Linked DNA regions of Homo sapiens: regions 1 and 2 are each linked to region 3. The links are contacts of gene promoters, found by promoter capture Hi-C in human tissues and cell types (Jung and others, 2019). All regions are on one chromosome and are shown on one strand. The core of a region is centred on a gene start or on the middle of the fragment in contact, and the rest is flanking DNA. Distances in the headings are between cores, read along the strand shown.

Region 1 (3,994 bases), core at 103-2,602, 250 kb after region 3:
CCAAGCTGGTCTCGAACTCCACACCTGCCTCAGCCTCCCTAAGTGCTGGGACTGTAAACAGGCATGAGCCACCGTGCCTGGCCATAACTTTCTGATTGTATTTTTGTTAGGCTAACATTAAAATTAGTTTGCATCCCTGATACCAAACTGGTTGGAAGGGAAGTAGAGCTGCAGAAAATTAAAGAAAAATTGGTATAAGATAAAACTTCTACAATGCATCATTCACAAGTGAATAGCGAGAACTAACTACACATGTATATTCTTGGTTCACCACAAAATCCTTTTAAACAAATACCTACCATTTCCCCAAAACAAACAGAGTAATTATGGTAAGGCCTTGTTAGTGTTCAGGCAGTATGCGTGAAATACATTTACTGCCCTGGAGTCACCTCTAAAGAATCTCCAAGCCGAATCCGTGCTGCTGGGATAAAGCTGCCTAATGCACCAGCCTCCAGCGCGCTGTGTAATGACATCCACGCTAATGGAGATGAGCTCGGCTTCATGGAGGTTCGACTCCTGAGAATGGATCTTAAAGGTGAGGCACGGAAGCTCAGGAGAAAGTCGATTTAATTTGTTTAACATTATAAAAAGGGACATTTCCACATGGACAGCAAGGACATGAATATCATGTGTGTATGGCAGAATTATAAACACATTTTTGGCGAAATTCAATAAAGCTGATTCCGCTGCAGAAGGTCAGCAATTTACTATAAAAAATGATATGATTGCAATTTTTAATATAACCCATGTATTTGCTGCAAGATGCTCTAGAAGATTGTGTAATGTAACCATTCGACCTCTCCACAGGAGCAGAGGTCACCCTATGTACCCTTTATTGTCCTGATAAAAGCGTCCATACAGAACAACAAAGTCAACGGCATTTACTTTAGAGCCACACTCAAGCCCAAGACTTCCTCTTCTCACACACAAGAATGGGGCTTAGGATGAAAGCCCTCATGGAAGGCAGCAGGAAAAACTCCAAATTAAATTCACTTCCTATGTAGCAAAATAATTACTGAAATGTATATGAAAAGGTATAGACGAACTAAGTAACCTCTGTAGTCATTCTAGATTTCATTTTCTACAATGTGATTCTTCAAGGGGAGAGCACAGGCGCAGACTACACCCTGAAATTCAACTCAGTGATGACAGAGACCCTGCTCCTCAAATTGGGTGGGCTTCCATATGTCTCATAAGCCCATGTTTACACTTTTTGAGGAAATGACTTAGGTTACCATGAAAATTAAATGGGCAAATGTATGTGTGAATGCTTTTAAGCTGTAAAGCAAAATACACATGCCAGTGGCTATTATACAGTCTGTACCGTATCATCTCAGGCTTGCCTGTAAATTAAAACATCTGTATTACTAGTAGCTTCTACAGCCTCATCACCAAGTTCTCTAAGGGTGTGGACCATTTATGTCCCCAGTGCACTTAGCATAGCACTTGGCAAACAGCAGATGAGGAATGCTTGGTGAACAGAGCTGAACTTGGTCACAGCTGACATGGACAATTCTAGACTGGGAGAATAGAACTTTTATTTTCCATGGTGTCTCCAGATGGAAGCTATAAAATGTCACTCTCATTTTCACTCACTGCTGCAGGAGTTCCTAGATCAAATCAAGCTCCTTTCCTGCCTTGGAGTCTTTGAGAGCTTGCTGTCCTTTCTGCCCGGGATTCTCATTCTTCACAGAACCACTTATCATTCTTCTGGTCTCAGCAACCTTCCCAATGCAAACCTACCCCACCCTCTCCATTATTCTCTCTCACAGCACCTTGCTTATCTGTATTTTGCTTGTTTGTTCATATTTCTGTGGAGTCTGCTTCCACCCCAGGCCTCTGTTTGTTTTATGTAAATGGTAACATTACATCCTCACTCCCAGGGCCAGCACCATGCCTTGTAAGATACATGCACTCAATAAATACTTGTTGGATGGAAAGATGGATGGATGGATGGATGGGTGGTGGATGAATGAATAGTAAAAATCTTTCCAAATAAGGTACTAAGATCTTCCAAAGAACAGTGCTATTTTATGTTATTTCTGTTATTTTCTATTATTTCTGCCTGTTACAGGTTGAGCATCCCTGATCCAAAAATCTGAAATCCAAAATAATCCAAAATCTGAAACGTTTTGAGTGCCAACATGACATTCAAAGGAAATGCTCATTGGAGGATTTTGGAATAGGGATGTTCAACCAACACAATATTCTGCAAATATTCCAAAATCTGAAAAAATCCAAACTGAAACATTTCTGGTCCCAAGCATTTTGGATCGGAGATACTTAACCTTTATTTCTATTTCAGCACTGTGTCTCCTCTTTTCAGGACTGCCTAAAGGAGAGCCTTTGATTGGGAAAAAAAAATGTAAGTAAATATGAGAAATAGACTCAAAGAGGACATCATGGAGCTCCATATTTATTCTCTTTCAATTACATTCTGTGCAAATTATCTTCACGTAAAAGTTACACCGATTTTTCTAGCTGCCTCTTCTTCAAATTCGACCTGTGTTCTTTCGGCCAAGACCCCAAATTTTGCAATTAGAATAATTTAATTCACAATTCCGCGTGTGACTTATAAAGCTGGGGAGAGTATGGCTTTGTTCTTTAGCTTCATAGGTTTACTACTGTCAGTGTTAAAATATTTTTCTTACAGCTTAAAGCCAAAACAGACTGAAAAAGAGTCCCATTCCTATGCACTTTCAGTTTCATTGAAAAGATGACATTTACGTGGTTGTGATATTTAATTTATCACAGAGGGTCATGATTTTTTTTTTCCTGACATACCATGATATAGTAAACTTGAACTTCATGAATGAAAGCCTCTGCAACCATTTAACAATCTGAAAATCCACACAAAATTTAAGACCACCGTATTACTAAAGACAATCTACTCAACAATCTAATTACAGAAAGATTACTTTAAAGGGCTTTAAAACTAAAAAGAATAATTAACAGTAAGAGATTAGAGCATGCCCAAGTCCTCTGTCTGATGAGAGGGGAGAGTTCTGAGGAGATCAGCTCCTATCAGGATGTTGAAGAAACTGAACAGGTATGTTTGAAGTTGGAAAGGAAACATTAGTAGAGTTGTTCAATTCTCAGAACAATTGAAATATAAGTCAGCTTGCCCCATCACTCTGTTTACTGAGGACCATTAGTGAGTTACCTTTACTTCAAAAACGGAAAGAAGACCAAGCTGTGGAATGACCAACCTAGCAAGCCTATCTATAGTTAAAAATAAATTTAAAATAGAAGCACACCATCACATACAAAGATAAGAATACTCCGTATTCATACAATTACAGATACACTAATTCATACACCACCCCCCAACAGATAAACTTAGATTTTTAAAAGACATCAGCTCAAAAGTGTTGAATATAACAATGGATTGGTAAATTAATGAATACTATCCAAAGTTATTTTTAAATCTTTCTAATTACAGTCCAATCAACATAAAATGTTTTTCAGTAGAGATTGCCTTATGTTATACCTTATGTTAAGTTTCAAAAATCCCTGCTTCTAACATTTTCCAACAGTTCCAATAAGCCCGCATATCATGTAGTCCCTTTGGTGGAAACTCTCTTGTCTACCCTTAGCAGATAAATCTCATTAAAAGAACTTCCATCCCTAAGTGAGGCCAGATAAGAAAGAAATTTTTCTTTTTGTTTTGTTTTGTTTGTTTGTTTTGAGACAGAGTCTCACTCTGTCACCCAGGCTGGAGTGCAGTGGCGCGATCTCAGCTCACTGCAACCTCCGCCTCCAGGGTTCAAGCGATTCTCCTGCCTCAGCCTCCCAAGTAGCTGGGATGACAGGCATGCGCCACCACGCCTGGCTAATTTTTTTTATTTTTAGTAGAGACAGGGTTTCACCATGTTGACCAGACCGGTCACGAACTCCTGACCTCAGGTGATCTGCCTGCCTCAGCCTCCCAAAGTGCTGGGATTACAGACGTGAGCCACTGCACCCAGCCAACAAGTTTTCTTAAAATCATCTC
Region 2 (3,733 bases), core at 1,187-3,686, 150 kb after region 3:
CCTATTTGTTGAATCCTTGAGGAGAGTTCCGTTCACATCTGGGATGTGGCTCATTTCACTTATTCATTCAACAACCACTGATGCTTGCTGAGAGCCAGGCTCCAAGCCGGGTGCTGGGGACACAGCAGGCGGGACGCCAGACAGAGCCCCACGCCGTGGAGCCAGCAGACGGTCAGGGATGGTCTGTCCCGGGCACATGGCTAGGAAGTGGTGAACCAAGGCGCTGCCCGCAGGAGTGGGGCTCCTGGGCCTAGATGCCCTGTTCCCATTCGAAACCCTCTCAGAACCAGCCAAGACTGAGGGTCCCTGTGGCCCAGTCTGGGGCTCTGCCCACACCTTGCAGAGGCTGCCAGTGCTTGGCAGGGGAGCTGGGCCGTTTTCCTGGGACCTTGGGCAGGTGACTTTGGAGAGCTGCTGGAATGTGAAGTCCCAAGGTCTGAAAACTCTCACAGGCCCAATAGGACGCTCATGCCCGGTGGCCGCGTGGAGGGACCGCCTCCTGGTCCAGGCATGGGTGGGGCCTCGCTGGCCACGCCCTTCCAGCCAGGTGCCTGATGGATGGGGCAGGGCCCACTCCAGGGCCACGTGGGCTCGGTGGCCAGACTGTCAAGTACTTTGTTTTCATTAGAAAAGTCTCCTTCTCCCAAAAGAAAGATCAAGCACAGGGGAGGGGGCCGTTTTATTTTTTAATAAAATGCCACTTGCTGTTTCTGAAGCAGCACTCTGTCAGCTACAGCACCTTGGGGCAAATTCATATTTCCGTCACTGGGGGATTGTAGGGGAAAGCTCGCTGGATGGCCCTGTCAGCAACTTCTTTTACCCCTGCTCTGCTGGCCTCCTGCGGCCTCACCCGCCCAGCTCCCTTCCGGACCCAGCTCGGCCCAGCCTGGCCTCGTGTCCCTGCCCCGGATAGCTTGACTGCGAGGTCACCCGGTGTGGCCGCTCTGATTGGCCATCGGCCCCATCGCCCTGACACAGCAGAGGCCCTTCCTGGGCATGCTCCGTGCGGGGGCCGTCACCCCAGCAACCGCGGGCTGGGGACCACAGAGGGGCCCTCCCAGTCCAGATCTGCCACTTTCCCTCAGCATTAACAGAGTCTTTAATAAAAGCCTAAGCGGCAGCCCCACAAATCGACTGTGACAGTTGGTGGAGAAAATGAAGGGCCCCCGCCCCCACCCCAGCCCCCTCCCCAGCCTCCCGCCCTTCTCCTCCAGGAGGCCCTGAGCCAGGACAACTTTGACATAATTTTGCAATAATTATCACTTGAAGAATTGCCACACAGGAGCGAGCGTCGCGAGCGATCACGTCAGCGGGAGAAGCGCTGACCAGTAGCCGGGGCCCACCCAGCCCACTGCCCTCCCTCCAGGGGGCACGGCGGCTGTCTGTGCCCGGGCCAGGCCTTCAGCCCCTCTGACGCATCTTCCCACCCCTCCCCTGCAGGAAGCGGGCAGCAGGTCACCCCAGCCAGGTTCCCCCCGGCCCAAGTGAAGCCGGAACCCGGTGAGAGCACCGGCGCCCCAGGCCCCCACGAAGCCTCCCAGGACCGCAGTCTAGACCTGACTGTGAAGGAGCCCAGGTGAGGCGAGGCCCCCTATGGGAGCCAGCCCCGGGAACCACACCTTCGAGCTGGAGCCCCGGGGTGGTCCCGCCCAGGCAGTTGCAGCGGGCTCGGCTGGAGCCCCAGGGTCGGGCAGGGAAGGTGAGCCCCAGGGCCCAGGCCCCGGCCGTCTGAGCTCAAGTCCCTTGGTTTGTGTGTTCTAGCAACGAATCAAATGGCCACGCAGTCCCGGCAAATTCATCTCTTTTATCCTCGCTTATGAATAAGGTAAGAGCCATCCATCACACGCCTCCCGTTCCCCCACCCAGAGAAATTAAAGCTGTGCTGGGGGGTGGGGGGATGTGTTTGTTTTTTAATGTTTTGCCTCTAATAAGATGAGTTTGTACCATTTAAATTTTGAGGCCATTTTTCATCGGATATAATTTCAGAGCCACTGCTTACAAATTAATTTAATGAACTGGCTGAAGAAATATATTCCAGCCTCTGACACCTTTTTTTCCCTTCAGATGGAGGGCTCCAAAAGCTTTTCCAGAGCCCTTCAACTTCGTTCGTGCCTCGTTATTAATTTTATTTATTTATTTTATATATATTTTTTGTTTGTTTAAAAGGGGATGGGGGAGGGGGGACTAAAGTGGGAGCAAAACATCAATTTCCACTTTTCCGGTTGAGTAATGGTCTCGGACGCCTTCCGGAGAGGTCGCTCCGGAATATTTATTTTAAATAATGCAGGGTCTTTGTAAATTATACATCATCTCAAATACATTTTTCCCCTTCACATGATACATTTGACTACAGCAAGATTAATTCGGTTACTGTACACAAGTGACTGCCCTGAGGAGGGGCCGGGCCCGGGCCGGACCTCTCGCCGCAGGGCCCCAGCCGGGCACTCGGTGGGGAAGGAGCCTCACTGGTCCGTGGCATCCACTCCTTGGCCACTTGCCCTCTTGCTCTCCTTCCCCCTCCCCTTCCTTTGGCCTCCGCCCCCACGACCCCCTCCCTTCCCTTGGATCCTCGCAATGACCCCCTCCCGGCCGCTGCAGCAAGCCTGTCTGGGTCTCACCCGTGAGCCTCCCTCCCTCCCTCCCTCCCTCTCTCTCCTTTGTGGGCCTCCTCTTGTTCTCAAGGAATTCGTAGGGGTTCCCCCATCCCTCCTCCTTCTGCGCTTCTTTTGAAAACCTTCTGGCAGGAAAATAACCAGGGAGCCGCGAAGTCTGGGGAAAGATGGGCTGCAGCGTGCACCCTGAGTCGCGGCCTCGGCTTGAGTGATGGATCCCGCGGCACGGGCTCATGTGGAGGAGCCCTGAGGAGGCCTCGCAGCTCCTGGGGTCGGGGCAGCACAGCAGGCTCTCTGTTCAGAGAGGGCCCAGCCACAGCCAGAGCCAAGTAGGCGGGCCGCATTCTCTGCTGGCTCTGAGGGCTGGGTGGGTCCCAGCAGCCCAGAGCTTCGGCTGTTGCTCCCCAGGCTGCCGTGTCTGTGTTCTAAGCTACCCCAGCCCCATGCTCGGCCTCTGTCCCTCACAGATGTCTCAGGGCAACCCTGGCCTGGGCAGCCTGCTGAACATCAAGGCGGAAGCGGAGGGGAGCCCCGCTGCGGAGCCCTCGCCCTTCCTAGGCAAGGCCGTGAAGGCGCTGGTTCAGGAGAAGTTGGCAGAGCCCTGGAAGGTGTACCTGCGCAGGTGAGGGGCTGCTGGCCGCGTCCACCCATCGTCCCCCCGCACCCGCCCTGGAGCCCCAGGCTCTCCTCTAACGCCAGCTCCTCTGGCTAGGTTTGGTACAAAGGACTTCTGTGACGGCCAGTGTGACTTCCTCCACAAGGCCCACTTCCACTGCGTGGTGGAGGAATGCGGCGCGCTCTTCAGCACCTTGGACGGGGCCATCAAGCACGCAAAGTGAGTAGGGTGCTGGGGGCCATTTCCACAGAGCCCCACGGATCCCAGCCTGGCTCTGGGGTGGGTGGGGCTCAGGCTGGTACAGCAGTTCCCGCTGGGCCACAGAAGCTGAGCCGGCTTCTCGGAGATGCTGCCCCAGCAAGGGTGGGCTTCCCATCCTCCTTCACACATGCAGCCCTCAGCCGGGGGCTCTGAGCCCCTGTCCAGGCCCTTCCTGGGACCCTGAGCAACAGCTGCTGCTGCACCCACGTCCCCAGGGCAGCCATCAGTCCCAGCACGTGCTCCC
Region 3 (3,923 bases), core at 1,100-3,599:
AGAAATGAGAAGTAAAGGGAGCACTGGATGTCCCAAGGAGCAATGACAATTACTGGCATTTATCGATCAATATCTTGGCCCAGGCCCTTTTCCTGCATTAACTCATTTTAGCTTCTCAACAATCCCAGGCAGTAGGTACTATTATTATCCCCATTTTACTGTGGAGGCAACTGAGGCACAGACGGGTCAAATGCCTTCCTCAAGGTCACCCAGCTGGTGGAGCGGTAGGGTCTCACCCCCAAGCCCAAGCTGCTAACCCCTTCTTTACGCTGCCCCAGGAGTGGACTCAGCCGTGAGCCAATAAGGTAGAAGAGCTACCTTGCCACTTCTCAGGTTACTGCCCCTCACTGTGCCTCAGTTTCTCCTTCTGTAGGATGACAAGATTGGGCTTGAGATCTCTGGGGCTGTGCATCCTGCTAAGTCACCAGGCACAAGGGTCTTAGAGATGGTGGGTGAGCCCTCAACCCCTGAGAGCTGAGAATGCCTTGGATGGTGGGGGCGGCAATGGAGAGTAACCAATCAGTGGTCTTTGAGGGATGTTAATTATCGTTGTGTTGCTGCTTCCAGTCAATTATTGGGATAAGGAGGGGGGAAAACAAAATGAACCCGAAACATGTGTCTAATGTCTAAATCTGGCTTTCCTGTGTGGACAGATCCTGAATGGACCCCCAGAACTATTCCAGGAAGTGAGGAGCTGGTTTTTTGAGCTGGTTTCTTCCCCAGTCCATCTAACACAAGCAAATATCACTGAGTATCTAAGGAGTGTGGGATGGCTCAGCTTCCTCTCCCAAATTTGTTGGCTTTATTAGGGCACAGGGCAAATCCTGGCCTCCTCAGGGCCAGAGGGCCATCATGTCTCCAGTCTGTGTCCATATGCTTCTGGACAATTAACTTCCAGTTTAAGGCAGGACATGGGAATGCATCCCGGAAGATGCTTGTCTTAGACAATCATCATACAGGGTTTTGGGTCGTTTCTCTGGTCCTGAGAGGCTTTCCTGACACCTTGCAGATTAGGCTCCAAATACTACCAGCCTGCAACAATGTTTACCAGCCTGTGGCATTGCCTCTTAGTTTAATGCATTCTGTTGAGCAGGGCTTGAAGCTGTGGGTCATACTTTGAATTTATATTCATTTATTCCACAAATCATTGATCTATTTCGTTTACTGTTATGGTCAGTTTCTCACTTATCTCATCATCTGGGTGTTTTCAGTTTCTTTCATGCCTCTCGATATTTCCATCCCACGCTTATGCTGAAGGGAAAAGCAGCTCAGGCCTGGAATGAGGGGTGCGCTTGCTGAGAAAGGCAAGACCAGAGCTACAGGGCCTCAGCACTGAAGCTGACTACTAGGCTCAGCTGGTGTGGCCACCTCAAACCAACTGGGAAATGGGAAGTCTGGGTATGGGAGAAAAGGGGGTTTCTTCAATAAAGTATGAAAGTGCCCCTCAAAAGGCCCTTCCCCCCCATCTGGGGGCAAGGGGATTATCTCTCGCAAGACACTGCTTTGTTTTGTTTTGTCAGAAATGAGGTCTAGCTATGTTGCCCAAGCTGGTCTCGAACTCCTGGGCTCAACCGATGCTCCTGCCTCGGCCTCCCAAAGTGCTGGGATTACAGGCGTAAACCACCATGCCGGCCCCCAAGACACTTTTTAGCCTATTGCCTTGGTTTATTTTCTTCATGGATACTTTCACTCTCTGAAATAACATTATCCACTTGTTTTAATGTGTATTATCTGCCCCCCCCCCAGCCCCTCCATGTAAGGTTCATTCTGCACGGCCTATCTTGCTCACTTAAGGATTTATTTCTTGCACAATAGATTGAATGAAAAACTCCCTTGCAAAGAATAAGTGCAAAGCAGATATCAAACAGTGAGAACATTTCGTTCCTTTGGGTTCCACAGTTCTAACATTCTAACTTGCAAAAAAGAGCCAGTTCTTCTGTCGAAAGTGGGAACCGAACTCGGGCTCTCTCGGGGTTCAGAACAGGTGGAAAGTAACCCCCCCCCCCATCCCTTCTCTCTTTTCCCCTAGCCTCAACTCAACTCAGCTGGGGGGGGGTGTAGAAGCCTCTGGACCTGCAAAAGGGGGCCGAGCGCTCAGATGCTCCTCCGCAGGCCGTGCGACTCGCCGCGCGCACACGCTGAGCTCAGCCCGGGCGGTGGGTGGGAAGGATCCGGGAGGGGCAGGTCTGGGGGTGTGAGGGTGGAGCGGAGCCCGGCCCCGCGATCCGGCCCGGGTTTTGCATGCCACCCACTCGCCCGCCCGGCCGCGGAGAATTCCATAATCACAGCGGGCGAGAGCGGAGACTGGGAGCGAAAAATCCGGGATCCGGCAACTTTGGGCAGCGCATGCGCGCCCGCGGCGCTCCATCCCAAACACACACACATTTTTCCCCCGGACTTGGAAAGTCACCCAAAGCCGCCCCAAGTGCAGGTAAGAGACTCGGCGCTCCCTCCGCCGCGGCCCCCCCACGTCCCCCAGCTCCGCGGGCCTCCCGGGGCGCCTCCCCGTCTCTCCCCCTGTCCCGGTGCACCCCCCCCACCCCCGGGGCTGCCGCTTGCAGCAGGGAGCGGGCGAGCGAGCGAGCGAGCGAGCCAGCCAGCCAGCCTGCGATCGGCGGCTGCCACCCAACTCCGGCCGTGCGGAGGCAGGGGGCACGGAGGGCTGGCACCCGGGCGCGGGGCGGCGCGTTGCCTGCCGTGGCCAGGGGAATGCCCGGCGCGCGGCTCCGGGGGAGGGGAGGGCTGCTCCTCCTGGGGGTCGCTTACTCCAACTGAGGGGGTGGCGGGGTAGGGGAGAAGAGAGGGAGGTGCCAGGCGCGAGCACAGGACTTTGCAAATAGGGTGGGGGCGCCCCACGCGCTGTGGGCTCCCGGGGGGGCAGGTGATCTCCAATACCGGGTAATCACTCCTTCCCCTTAAACCCCCACCCCACCCCACCCCCCAGCAGCAGAGGGGTCGTGCGCTCTCCAGGGCAGAGAAGGAGGCGGGGTGAGGGGTGCCTGGGGTGACTTTGCAAGACTTTGCCCATGGGAAGGGGTGGGTGGGGAACCCCTCCAGCCGGCTCTTGTGCCCGGATACCGGGTGTAGGTGCTGCCAGCAGAGGTAGGCAGTGTTCGCTTAGGCGCGGGGTGCCAAAGGGTATCCCCCATAGGAAATCGAAGGCAAGAGATTTCTTAGATGGGGGGAGCGGCGCCCCCTTTTTCATCTGTGCCTGGGAAGTTTATCTCAAGTGCGCTGCTCCAGGCGCGGCAAGTGGCGTTCCTCACTCCCTTCCCCACCCCACCCCCTGCCTCCCCAGCTGAAGGGCTGGCAACACAGGGCACGGGGAGCCGGGGCATCGGCCCAGAGCTGCCCGGCTGTCGGCTGGAGCCCGCCTGGGTCCCGGGGAAAGTTCGGGCGAGTTGTTGCCGGCTGTTGTGTGCGCCAGAAGAGAAGTTGCGCCCGGGGACGTGGGACGCTGGGCTGGCGGGCTAGCGGGCTGGTAGAGTGGTGCGCTCCGGGGGGGCTCTGCAGCGTGGGAGAGGGTCGGTCGGGGTCTGTTCCCCCAGGGTGGGCTGAGGGTGACCTCGGAGCTCAACAATTGGGGAGGAGGAGCCCTGAATCCAAGGGCACAGGGCTGAAATAGGCACCTGGTGAAGGACAGAGAAAAAAGTAGTTTGTGGGGGCGCAGGGAACACCAAAGGGAGAGAGCCGGTTTCCCGGTCACTTAGGGTCCGGCTTAACGGCAAAGGAGAGCGTGGTGACTGACGGAGGAGCGTCGGGGAGCGGGGATCCAGGGGGCGCGCGGGAATGGGGGATCGGGCCAGACCGAGTCAGGGATCTCCCGGGGCAGGGGGCCGATTCGTGCGCCCGGGGTGAGCCGGACGGGCGGAGCGGCGGCCGGTTTATTTTTACTCGGTGGCATTTGCAGAATGTGCAGCTGA

Evidence for each region. The method cuts DNA at HindIII sites, captures the fragments that hold promoters and counts their contacts. A contact is called where the count stands out against the background at its distance.
Region 1: a fragment that was not itself captured here is called in contact with the fragment with the promoter of CASZ1 in region 3 in 4 of the 25 tissues and cell types used here (dorsolateral prefrontal cortex, mesenchymal stem cells, mesendoderm cells and 1 more).
Region 2: a contact is called between a fragment that was not itself captured here and the fragment with the promoter of CASZ1 in region 3, in 1 of the 25 tissues and cell types used here (neural progenitor cells).

The regions. Positions count from the first base shown.
Region 1 is chr1:10,547,910-10,551,903 of GRCh38, reverse strand. The region is part of intron 3 of PEX14 (peroxisomal biogenesis factor 14); the gene reads right to left. Among named protein-coding and RNA genes, the nearest start is that of PEX14, 75 kb to the right of the region's middle. The HindIII fragment of the contact is 6,902 bases long and covers 1-3,994 here.
Region 2 is chr1:10,648,784-10,652,516 of GRCh38, reverse strand. CASZ1 (castor zinc finger 1) reads left to right here. Exons shown (of 21, transcript NM_001079843.3): 12 at 1,441-1,576; 13 at 1,762-1,825; 14 at 3,080-3,234; 15 at 3,325-3,447. Among named protein-coding and RNA genes, the nearest start is that of CASZ1, 150 kb to the left of the region's middle. The HindIII fragment of the contact is 4,971 bases long and covers 1-3,733 here.
Region 3 is chr1:10,795,072-10,798,994 of GRCh38, reverse strand. It overlaps CASZ1 (castor zinc finger 1), which reads left to right and starts at 2,349. Exons shown (of 21, transcript NM_001079843.3): 1 at 2,349-2,431. The HindIII fragment of the contact is 29,932 bases long and covers 1-3,923 here.